Linked DNA regions of Homo sapiens: all the other regions are linked to region 1. The links are contacts of gene promoters, found by promoter capture Hi-C in blood cells and fetal thymus (Javierre and others, 2016). All regions are on one chromosome and are shown on one strand. The core of a region is centred on a gene start or on the middle of the fragment in contact, and the rest is flanking DNA. Distances in the headings are between cores, read along the strand shown. Region 1 holds the start of PURB (purine rich element binding protein B). Region 2 overlaps OGDH (oxoglutarate dehydrogenase). Region 3 has its middle 21 kb from the start of TBRG4.

Region 1 (3,655 bases), core at 524-3,023:
TTTTTAAAAAAATGGATCCAATTTGGTTCTGTATTCTTAGATGGCTTCTTGAAATCTTATCTTTAACCTGTTCATGATTATCCCAAGTTGCATTTCTTTTCGTGAACCTGAACCCTCAGAACTGGGTAATTGTAAAGGCCTCTCTTCTCAAGGATTCCATGAAGACCTAGATCCAAAATGCTGATTTCAATGGAGGTGAAGGGATAGACACCGCAACAGTGAGGCCTAGAGAGATCTTTTATGCCAGATTACCCAGGTGCAACCTAAATGCAACTGTTATCAATGGTCTGGGTAACTTGGACATGTTTCTTGCCCTGGATGTGCAAGGATCTATTCCCTCCAGGGATTATCCTGATGGGTTTACGAACCTCAGTTGAGAAACAACAGAAGCTGAGACAATTTTACGCAGGTGAGGAGATGCTGTTTTCCTCTTTGCAGGTTGCTGTCAGTTCCTTGGAACTTGACTGCTTTTCTCAAGTTGTCCGTCACTGTTCTCTTACGATTATTTCTCTTAACTGTGTTACGTTTTGTTTTTTCCCTCTGCGGCCTCCCTTGCTCCCTCTCCACTAGCTCACTGGGGATGAGCAGGAAAGGGAATTCTCTAGCCAAGGGGATGGTGGTTGGGTGGAGGCCTGTAGGGGAAGCTGCCCGTTTCAATCCTCATCCACCTCCTCACCCTCTGACTCTTCGCCGCCGCCGCTGCCCCCACCACGTCGCTCATAAAGCTTATCCCTCTGTCGTTCCTGGATTTCTTTCATCTCATCCGCATACCGGCAAAAGGCGCCTCCGAACTTGCCCCAGGCTTTGAAGGGTACGGTGATGGCATTGCGGTAGGACGGCTTCACCTCGCTCACTCGCAGAAACACCCCGTATTTGTTGCAGCCCACATCGAAGAAGAAGCGCTTGGAGTCCACGGTGATGGAGGTGCCCTCCGGGAGCTCTCCATACAGGCCGCCCCCTGGGCCCCCGGCGCCGCCTCCCGGGCCGCCTGCCAGCTCGTCGTCCTCGCCTCCGTAGTCGTCTATGAGCTTCGCCAGCGCGTCGCGGAACTCGATGAGGCCCTGCGCAGGCAGCGCGATGGTCTGGCCGCTCTGCAAGCCGCCCGGCCCGGGGCCCGCGCCGAAGCCGCCACCGCCGCGGTTGACCGTTTGGCGGATGCGCAGGAAGCGGCCGCGCTGGTTCTCCTTGAGGTCCAGGTAGTACTTGCGGTTCTCACGCACCAAGAATTCGCTCTTGAGCGCGCGCCGCGGCCCGCCGCCCTCCTCGGCGCCAGCCGCCAGCTGCTCGGGGCTGCTAGGGCCCAGCTGCGCGTAGTGTTCTATGAAGTCGCCCAGCGAGTCGCGGAACTCGGCGGCCACCGCCATGGACAGCGTGAGGCGGCTCTTGGAACCGCCCGCGCCCACCTCGGCGATCTTGAGGAAGCGGCCCTTGGCGTTCTGCTTCACATCTAAGTAGAAGCGCTTGTTCTGGATGTCCAGCCGCTTCGAGGCCAGCTCCTGCGTCTCTTGCTCGCCGCCGCCGCGGGACGCGGGCTGGAACCCGCACGGCCCACCGCCGCCGCCGCGCTCGCTGCCGCTGTCGCCGTCCGCCATCTTCTAGGCCGCCGCCTCGCCGCCACCGCCCGCCGCGCTCGCGCCCCCGCCCTCCGGCTCGCGCTCCGGGGCCCCCCAGCCTCGCCCGCCCGGCTCGCTCACGCGCTCCCGCCGCTCATCGCCGGCCGCCGCCGCCCCCCCATCGCCTCCGCGCCCCGCCCCCGCGACTTCCGTGCAGCCCTAGCCACTTCCGGCGCGCGATTTCCCGTGAAGTCACTCCGTCCCGCCCTCCGCGGCCTCGCGGCCGGAAGCGCCGCGGCGGCGTGGCGCAGAGGGGTGACGTCAGGGGCCGCGCCGGGCGGGCGGCAAGCTGAGAGTAGGCTAGTGTTACTGCTCGGTTTCTAGCCCTGGGGACTTGCCAGCCTTAGCGTGACTCAGCCGCCCGCTGCGTCTGTCTACGCGCCTCTTCCCGTGACACTTTTACTTTAGACTCCGGTGTCGTCCACTTCCCTCCTTCTCGCTTCCGGGGCGTTAGCTGAGCATACTCAGGCCCCAGCCTGCTCGCGCTGGTTGTGTGCTGGGAACAGAGTTCCAGTCTATACACTGGCGACCGGGGGGAGGGAGATCCTTTGGAGCACTCGGAAGCGGGTTCTGACCAGCCTGTGGGGTTCCCTAGAGGAGGCATGAGCTGACTCTGAAGGGCAAACTGCAGTTGGCCTGGCAACTCTGGAGAAGAGCCACCCAGCATAGGAGACGGCAGTGCAGAGGCACCCAGGGCCTGATGCTGGGAGCTCAGAGCAGCTGGGGGTGTGTATGCCTGAAGAATGGTCGTAGATGACACTGGAGGGTGGATTAGATCAAGGAAAGCCATTTGCAGTGCGGGAGAGTTAGTGCCTACCCCAGAGTCTGGAGCCACCGTATGTGATCAGGTTCACATTTTGGAAAGATCACTGTGGGAACAATATAGAAAGAAGATGATTTAGGATGAGGTTAGATTTGGGATCCAGAGATCAGTTAACTGTCCCCACAGTTAGCCATATTAAAGTGGTTAAGGAAATTGACTGCCAATCTTTAGTTTCTTTATCAATAAAATGAATAATTCCTATGAGGTCTTTTTGTTGTAAGCATTGAGGTGTAACAAGAGGCAGAATTGGAATAGTGTTAAAAAGTGTAGGCTCTGCAACTGCACTGGGTTTGAATCTGTGACCTTGACCAGTTACTTGATTTTCCAAAGCCAAAATGTCCTCATCCTTAAATTTTTTTTTTTTTTTTTTTGAGTCTTGCTCTGTCACCCAGGCTGGAGTGCAGTGGCGTGATTTTAGCTCATTACACCCTCCACCTCCCGGGTTCAAGCAATTCTCCTACCTCAGCCTCCTGAGTAGCTGGGATTACAGGCAACCGCCACCACACCCGGCTAATTTTTGTATTTTTAGTAGAGATGGGGTTCCACAATGTTGGCCAGGCTGGTCTTGAACTCCTGACCTCAGGTGATCTGCCCGCCTCAGCCTCCCAAAGTGCTGGGATTACAGATGTGAGCCACCACACCCAGCCTAAATGTAGTTATTCATAGATAGTGAATCCAACAATGGACTTGTAAAGAACACAAATAATAGATAACCCAATATAAAAGGTGAAAGATTTTAACAGACACTTCGTCAAAAAAGCCAGTAAGCACATGAAACAGTGCTCAACATTATTCATCATTAGGGAAATATAAATTAAAGTCAGAATGAAATACCAACTAGAATGGCTAAAATTAAAAAATGTAACATCAAGTGTTGAGAAGGATGTGAAGAAACTGGAACTCATACATTGCTAGTAAGGATATAAAATGGTATAAATGCTTTGGGAAACAGTTTGGCAGTTTCTTATATACCTTTCATAAAATAAGACCCAACATTTCCACTTTTTTTTTTTTTTTGAGCAGTCTTGCTCTGTTGCCCAGGTTGGGGTGCAGTGGAACAATCTTGGCTCACTGCAACCTCTGCCTCCTGGGTTCAAGCAATTCTCCTGCTTCAGCCTCCTAAGTAGCTGGGACTATAGCCATACCCAGCTCATTTTTTGTATTTTAGTAGAGATAGGGTTTCACCGTGTTGCTCAGGCTGGTCTCGAACACCTGAGCT
Region 2 (3,655 bases), core at 749-3,248, 240 kb before region 1:
TGGCCAGGCTGGTCTCGAACTCCTGATCTCAGGTGACCCACCCACCTTGGCCTCCCAAAGTGCTGGGATTACAGGCATGAGCCACTGCGCCTGGCCTGATTAGGTTTTACGTGACAGTGGTAGCTTGCTGTTGGTTCTTGCTGTGCAGGGGTGGGATACAGCCAGACTGACTCCTGCTCAGTTTCCTGCTGTATTCAAGGGGTTTCTCCTTTTAGGTCAGGTCCTCAGTTATTGGAGGCCTGGGTAGAGGCCAAGAAGTGCAGTCATTGGTCATCCCTGCTTTCACAATGAAGATGGATGTCCAATGCATGTGGTCCCCAGTCATCTCTGCTTCTAGAATGTATGGAGCTCTCAGTCCTGCTGGAAAAGCTCCATGAAGTCAGAAGTACCTGAGGGTGTCCAGTGTATTTGTGCACAGCCACCTTTTAGATCCCTGTGTCCTTGACAGAACCAGTCATGGACTGAGTGGGAGGCAGCCTTTACTTTGCCTAGGGAGTTGATGCTGAGACATCCTCTGTTTTCTCTCCTAAGAGTAAGTCAGTTTTTTCCTCTGGTGGAAATACTGCCTTTTCTCATGTTGGAGGAGAACACTGAGTTTTCATGAGAACCGATTTAATGGAGGAAGGTGAGAATCTCTTTGGAGATTCCAAACCCTGGGTTTCTTTAGCAAACATTTTGATAGCATCTGTTGAAAAGGAAAGTTTAGGCCCAGATGGTGGCTCATGCCTATAATCCTTGCACTTTGGGAGGCTGAGACGGGCAGATCAGTTGAGCTCAGAAGTTCAAGAACAACTTGGGCAACATGGTGAAACCTCATCTCCACAAAAAAATATTTAGTAAAAAAATTAGCCATGCGTGGTGGTGCGTGCCTGTGGTCCCAGCTACTCAGGAGGCTGAAGCAGGAGAATCACTTGAGCCCCGGAGGTGGGGGTTACATTGAGCCAAGATCGTGCCAGTCTACTCCAGCCTGGGCAGCAGAGCCAGACCCTGTCTCAAAAAATAAAAAAGAAAGAAAAGGAAAGTTTGCAGCCTTTTTTCATGTTCCTGATTGTTGGGTTACATTTGTATAAGATGCTTCTGTAATAGGTTTTGTGGGAGGTGCCAGAAGAGAACCCCAAATCTGTCTTCTACATCAGACAATACACCAGAAATTAACCAGAAAGGTAAAAACCGTAAAACCTCAAATAGTTTGATTTGTAAAAACATTTTAAAGGCCAGGTGCAGTGGCTTACGCATGTAATCCCAGCACTTTGGGAGGCCAAGGCGGGTGGATCACAAGGTCAGGAGTTCGAGACCAGCCTGGCCAACACAGTGAAACCCTGTCTCTACTAAAAATACAAAAATTAGCTGGGCATGGTGGCAGGCGCCTGTAATCCCAGCTACTCGGGAGGCTGAGGCAGGAGAATCGCTTGAACCCAGGAGGCAGAGGTTGCAATGAGCCGAGATTGCACTACTGCACTCCAGCCTGGGCAACAGAGCTAGACTCTGTCTCAAAAAAAAAAAAAATTTTTAAATATAATTCACATAACATAAATGTAATTATTTGGCCTGGTCCTGGTGACTCACAACTGGATTCCCATCACTTTGGGAGACTGAGGCAGGAGGATTGCTTGAGGCTGGGAGTTTGAGACCAGTTTGGGCAACAGAGCAAGACCCTGTTTCTTTAAAAAAAAAAAAAAAAAAAAAAAGTCATTTTTTAAGTGTACCATTCAGTGGAGTTTTGTTTTTAACAGATGGGTTCTTGCTGTATTGCCCAGGCCAGCCTTGAATTCCTAGGCTTAAGTGATCCTCCTGCCTCTGCTTCCCAAGTGACTGGGACTACAGGCACATGCTACTACACCCAGCTACAGTGGTTTTTAGTATGTTCACAATACTGTGCAGTCACATCTCTGGTGGTTGTTTTCTTTAAGTTATTTTTTCTGAATACCAAAAAATACATGCTTATTATAGAATGTTTTAAATATTCTACAAAAAAGAAAAAGGGAAGGAAAAAAAAAGTATTCCACAAAACTCCCCTCAAAAACAGATTTCACTGAGAGATCAGACTCCCCTGCATGAGGCAGATGGTCCAGGCCTGTGCATTATCATTGTGTCTTTTCTAGTTTGTGTCTAGCAGCAGTATATAGCAGTGCTCTTGGTAGTGGGACCATCTGAGTGACGTACATCTGTGCCCTAGCCAGCATTATAAAAGAACCTGTCTGAAAAAAACAGAAGACCTTAAGGACCAGCATACTGGATTCTGTAGCCATCTCTACCTTCTGGTCTCCAGACTCAGACAGACCCATTTGATATCCAGCCATGTCCCAGACAAGGAGCACATCTGGGTGGCATCTTGTTAGAAGGAGAATGCAAAGATCTCATAAAGTTTTGCCTTGCCTCTCCAAGTTTTTCAAGACAGTCTTATCAGAGTTTATTGATGGAAGAATTTTAGAGGCTGGAAAAGGTATTGCAGAAAAGAAAAACAATGTTTCTATTTTTTTTTTAAACTGATGTTTTGCCAGGCGCGATGGCTTACGCCTGTAATCCCAACACTTTGGGAGGCCAAAGCAAGTGGATCACTTGAGGTCAAGAGTTTGAGACCAGCCTGGCCAACATGATAAAACCCCATCTCTACTAAAAATACAAAAATTATAAGCCTGGTGGCGTGCTCCTGTAATCCCCGCTGCTCAGGAGGCTGAGGCAGGAGAATCACTTGAACCCGGGAGGTGGAGGTTGCAGTGAGCCAAGATCATGCCACCACACTGCCTGGGCAACAGAGCGAGACTTCATCTCAAAAAAATTAAAATAAACTGATGTTTAATTGTGCTTTTCTTTTCTTTTTACAATGAACTTTTGTGAAGTCTTAGTATGTCTGATCTCTTAAATATTTTAAAAACTTGCATCTTTGTATGAGATGAATAAACCATTACAGTTCACAGTATCTGCAAATTGTAAATCAAATAATTCAGACATGGAATAGCCAAAAATAGTAGGAATATAAGTAAATTAGTTTATAGTTTTTCTAAGGAAATTCAAACTGATAACTAACACCTGACTTTGTGAAGTATTAGACTGTGTGCTAATGCCTTTAACTAGGGTAGTCTTTACAGCATACCTATGAAGAATGTATATATTTCTCTCCTCATAGATGAGAAAACAGCACAGAAAGGTAACTCACTAAGAGCCTACCTCTTGAATTTGAATTTTGATCCCTGACACAGAGATCAGATTTGAATTTCCATCTCTGACCCCACACTTTGAGCTCTTAGCTCCTGAGTTTCTCCTGAGGTAGCAATGATATTATTTCTCTGTGGGGTTAGTGCTGCCTCTTACAAAGGATCAGGTTCCACTTTGTTCCCAGGGAAGTGAAAGGACATGAGCAAGGTGACCCTGGGCTCTTCACAGGTTGTGCTGAGCCCTTGGGGCCTTGAGGGAGGTGTTTGATGGGGTGTTTGATCCCACAGAAAAACTGGTAGAGTTTGCAGACCTATAGACAGAAGGTCAAGAGATCACCTCCCAGGTGCTGGGGCCGGGGGGAAGGCTGAGACAGTAAGTGTCTCTGTTGACCTACATCCTGAATCTGTCCCCAGGCCCAGTGAATAGGAACTGAGGAGAGCTGTTGGCATTGGGCCTTTGGGTTATGTGTGTTGATGGAAGGCGGCCACAGGGCATCTGT
Region 3 (3,655 bases), core at 822-3,321, 250 kb after region 1:
CATGTCAGGCCCAGTTCCATTCCCCTTTCTGCGCTCCTTTATTCCCTTCATTACTACTATTTCTGGAAGAAAAGCCACAGGCATGCAAGGATGACAACACACACGGTGCAGGGCAGGGGGCAGTGGCGTTCCCACTTGGCCCTGACCCCCGTTCTCATTTTTGGAGGCTGATTTCCTACTCTCTTCAGAGATGATCAAGCCTGTTCAAGTATGGATGTGCAGGTCCGTTCTCCTTAGAAATGCGACTTATGTGCACACTGTCTCCCCCTCCTTTTTTTTTTTTTTTTTCCATTTGGGGAACATCCATTTAGCTCAGCCAAACTGAGCTAGTTCTGTGAGCTCAGTTTGGCTGGGTTTTAATGACACACGCCTGCTTCTGAGTGGCGGCTTAGTCCCCTCGGTATGGATGTGTCCACATAATTGCTAGTCTCCTATTGATGGACATTTAGGTTGTTTCTGATTCTTTGCTACCACAGAAGACCCCAGCTTTCGGCATGTGGGCAGGGAGCTCTGCAGGGTACCAGTGTAGAGGCGGAGATGCTGGGCCAAAGGGTCCATGTTTCGCCCACATGGGAGGCCCCGCCCAAGTGTCCTCCAAGCATCTGGCCCGATTCCCAGTCCCTGCTGGCACACCTGGGTATGCAGGGCTGGTCCCCGACACCTCATGAGCAGACACGCTCATCCTGCCCACTGGGTAGATAGGTCGATGGGTGATGGTGGAGGCTTTTATTTTTACTTTTTATTATGATAATTTTAAACATACAGCAAAGTAAAAATAATAGTTCAATAGGTACTCACAGACCGATGGTCTAGATTAACCTTGTCAACATTTTGTCGGACTCATGTTACTATTGTTTGTGTTGTTGTTGGAATTTAAATCTGAAACATCGTGTTGTTTCAACCCCAACTACTTTCTTTTTTTTTTGAGACAGAGTCTCACTGTCACCCGGTTTGGAGTGCAGTGGTGCAATCTCAGATCACTGCAACCTCTGCCTCCTGGGTTCAAGCAATTCTCCCTGCCTCAGACTCCCGAGTAGCTGGGATTACAGGCTCCCACCACCACACCCGGCTAATTTTTGTATTTTTTAGTACAGACGGGGTTTTGCCATGTTGGCCAGGCTGGTCTTGAACTCCTGACCTCAGGTGGTCCACTCGCCTCAGCCTCCCAAAGTGCTGGGATTACAGGCATGAGCCACCACGCCTGGCCAATCCCCTACTACTTTCATATGAAGTTGGAAATCCCAGGGCTGTTTTCCTACAGATAAAATTATTCTACGCGTAAAGTAACTGCTAGTTCCATGAGCTCAGGTTGGCTGGGTCTTTCCTTCTCAGTGGTGTCCAGCCTCTGCAGTCCTCCTTCAAACTGCCCCTGCACCCCAGCTCCCCCAGCCTCCCTCCTGTTTCTTGTCCCTCTATAGTCCTCACTCCTCAGGGAATGTCTATGGCACTGCCACTATCCCCTTTCTCTGCTCTCCCCTCCCCTCATCCTGTGGGAAGCATCCGCCCACGCTCCCTGAGCCCCTGCCCTAGCCCCCACCCCTGCATCCCTGGCAGCAGCTCCCAGGCACAACCAGGGCCCTGCCTGGTCCGGAGCACGCCCATCTGTTCAGCCTTCAGAGGCCTTGGACCCACATCTGCCCACTGTTGCCAATGCAGAACTTGGCCTCCTCCCACATCTCCTTTCCCTGGGAATGGTTCCTCACAGCCAGAGACTTGGAGGGCCTCCCTTTTGTGTTTCTCCATCTAATCAGTTACCAAGAGGTTGGGCCACTGGTGGATGCCCCTCCAAAACCCTCTTGAGTGTGTTCCTGTCAGCTCTTCTGGGCTGCTGCCCTGGGATGGGCTGTTGTGGCATCGGCCACTGCAACAACCGCCTTAACACACTTGTCTGACTACAGACGATCTGATTTGTTCATGAGATGTCCTGTATACTGTCCTCCAGAGCACAGGACCTCTCTCATCTTGTTGAACAGCACATTTGCAGCATCTGGGGCATTAGCCTTTAATGGGAAGGAAGGGAGGGAAAAAAGGAGGAAGGGAGGGAGGAAGGAGGAGAGGGAGGGAGGGAGGGAAGGAGAGAGGGGAGGAGGGAGGGAGGAGGTGGGAGAGGGAGGGAAGGAGGCAGGGATGGAGGGAGGGAAGACTATATCAGGCCTCCCCACTTTCCAGTTAGTTGTCAATGCTCTGTCCAGCATGGCCTTTCACGCCTGGGCATGATCCTATCACAACCCCATCTGAAACTCTTCGGCGGTTTCCCATTACCTGGGGGGAGAAGTCCAAATGCTGGGGTGTGGCATTCATGCCCTTCATGACCTTGAATGAAGTGGCCTAGAGGAAGCGTTTGAGTGCATGCCTGTGTGAATCTAGTCTTGGCTGTGCTAGTTGTGTGACCTTGAGCAGCTTACTCCTTCCTCATTTGTAAAATGGGGTAATAATGAGACCTATTCCAACTACCAGAGGGAGCTGGGGCCCGGGGGGCCAGGAGGGAACACATGTTCTGTGTGGCTGGTGGGGGGCAGTGGGGAGGAGTGAGAGGTGTTGGCAGGACAAGGAGTTCGGGTTAGGTGCACAGCTGCCCTTAGAGCCCTCAGGGCCAAATGGAGAAGCCAGAGGGTTCCAGGAATGCCATTCCTCCAGGCTCACCAGCCCCAGAGGCAAGGAATGTAGGGTTCTTCTTGCGCCCAGGGGAAGGTTGTTGGCCCCTGGCTTGCCTGGCTCCAGCCTATCATCTTCTAAGATGCACAGGCTCTTTCACTCCCCAGCAGCTCCTGTGTGCCCAGGATTGATGGGGAAATGAGGCCCCGGGTTGTGGTCATCTGGAGCACACTGTCCCCACTCCTGGTCCTATGGGGTCAGCTGGGTCAGGATTTTCTCCAAAACTCTGAGTAAAGACAGGGATGGAGGAGGCCATGCTATTCCACAGGTGTGTCCTGGTCTTGTGGTGACTGCCACAGGCCCTGGGTACATGACCTGCCTTCAGCCCTTGCAATCAGGGTCACGGCCTCTGATCACGTGAAGGTCTCATGCTTGTCATCAGGGTCACAACCCTGGTGCAGGTCCTCAGCCCTTGTCATCAGAGTCAGGACTCCTGGGTGAATGTCCTGTCCTTGTCATTGGGGTCATGACCCTTCGGTGAAGGTCTCACTCTCATTATAGGGGTCCCGACCCTGGGTGCAGGTCCTGCCCTCAGCCCTCTGCCCTCATCATGGTCTGTCTGCTCTGACACCCTTCCTACATCTCCTGTCTCACCAAGTCATGTCCCTGCATACAGTTGCTACACCTCCTGCCTCTAGCTCCTGCTTAGAAAGTTCTCTCCTCCCATCTTTCAAAGCTCTACTGCCACCTCCTACTCCAGGGCTGCAAGGCTGTGAGGCTGCAGTGGGCCCTCTGCCCCTTCTCTTGTACCTAGCAGAACCGTGGGCCTCATGGGCCTGTGGTCATTGGCAGGTGGGTTGGATGTCCCACTGGCTCTGTTTCTGCCCTGGACCACAGCAGGTAGAGCAGGGCTGCAGAGGATGCTGGGCGCAGCCCTGGTGGCTAAGGCCTCATGGTGTCATCTCTGTCCAGCTTGTTCACTTGTGGTCCATTTGCTAACACTTGTGTGTGGCCAGGGGCACAGGCACATGAAATGCAGACCCCAGGTGCATACCCACAG

Evidence for each region. The method cuts DNA at HindIII sites, captures the fragments that hold promoters and counts their contacts. A CHiCAGO score of 5 or more calls a contact.
Region 2: a contact is called between a fragment that was not itself captured here and the fragment with the promoter of PURB in region 1, in 3 of 17 cell types (monocytes, naive CD8 T cells and total CD8 T cells). The highest score is 9.9, in monocytes.
Region 3: a contact is called between a fragment that was not itself captured here and the fragment with the promoter of PURB in region 1, in 12 of 17 cell types (fetal thymus, M0 macrophages, neutrophils and 9 more). The highest score is 9.5, in fetal thymus.

The regions. Positions count from the first base shown.
Region 1 is chr7:44,883,757-44,887,411 of GRCh38, forward strand. PURB (purine rich element binding protein B) reads right to left here and starts at 1,774. Exons shown (of 1, transcript NM_033224.5): 1 at 1-1,774. The coding sequence starts at 1,592. The coding sequence ends at 654. RefSeq lists enhancers at 846-1,805, 1,954-2,203 and silencers at 1,264-1,313, 1,604-1,963. The HindIII fragment of the contact is 4,558 bases long and covers 724-3,655 here.
Region 2 is chr7:44,641,430-44,645,084 of GRCh38, forward strand. The region is part of intron 2 of OGDH (oxoglutarate dehydrogenase); the gene reads left to right. Among named protein-coding and RNA genes, the nearest start is that of OGDH, 37 kb to the left of the region's middle. The HindIII fragment of the contact is 9,176 bases long and covers 1-3,655 here.
Region 3 is chr7:45,130,513-45,134,167 of GRCh38, forward strand. No RefSeq gene overlaps it. Among named protein-coding and RNA genes, the nearest start is that of TBRG4, 21 kb to the left of the region's middle. RefSeq lists an enhancer at 3,309-3,655. The HindIII fragment of the contact is 5,554 bases long and covers 1-3,655 here.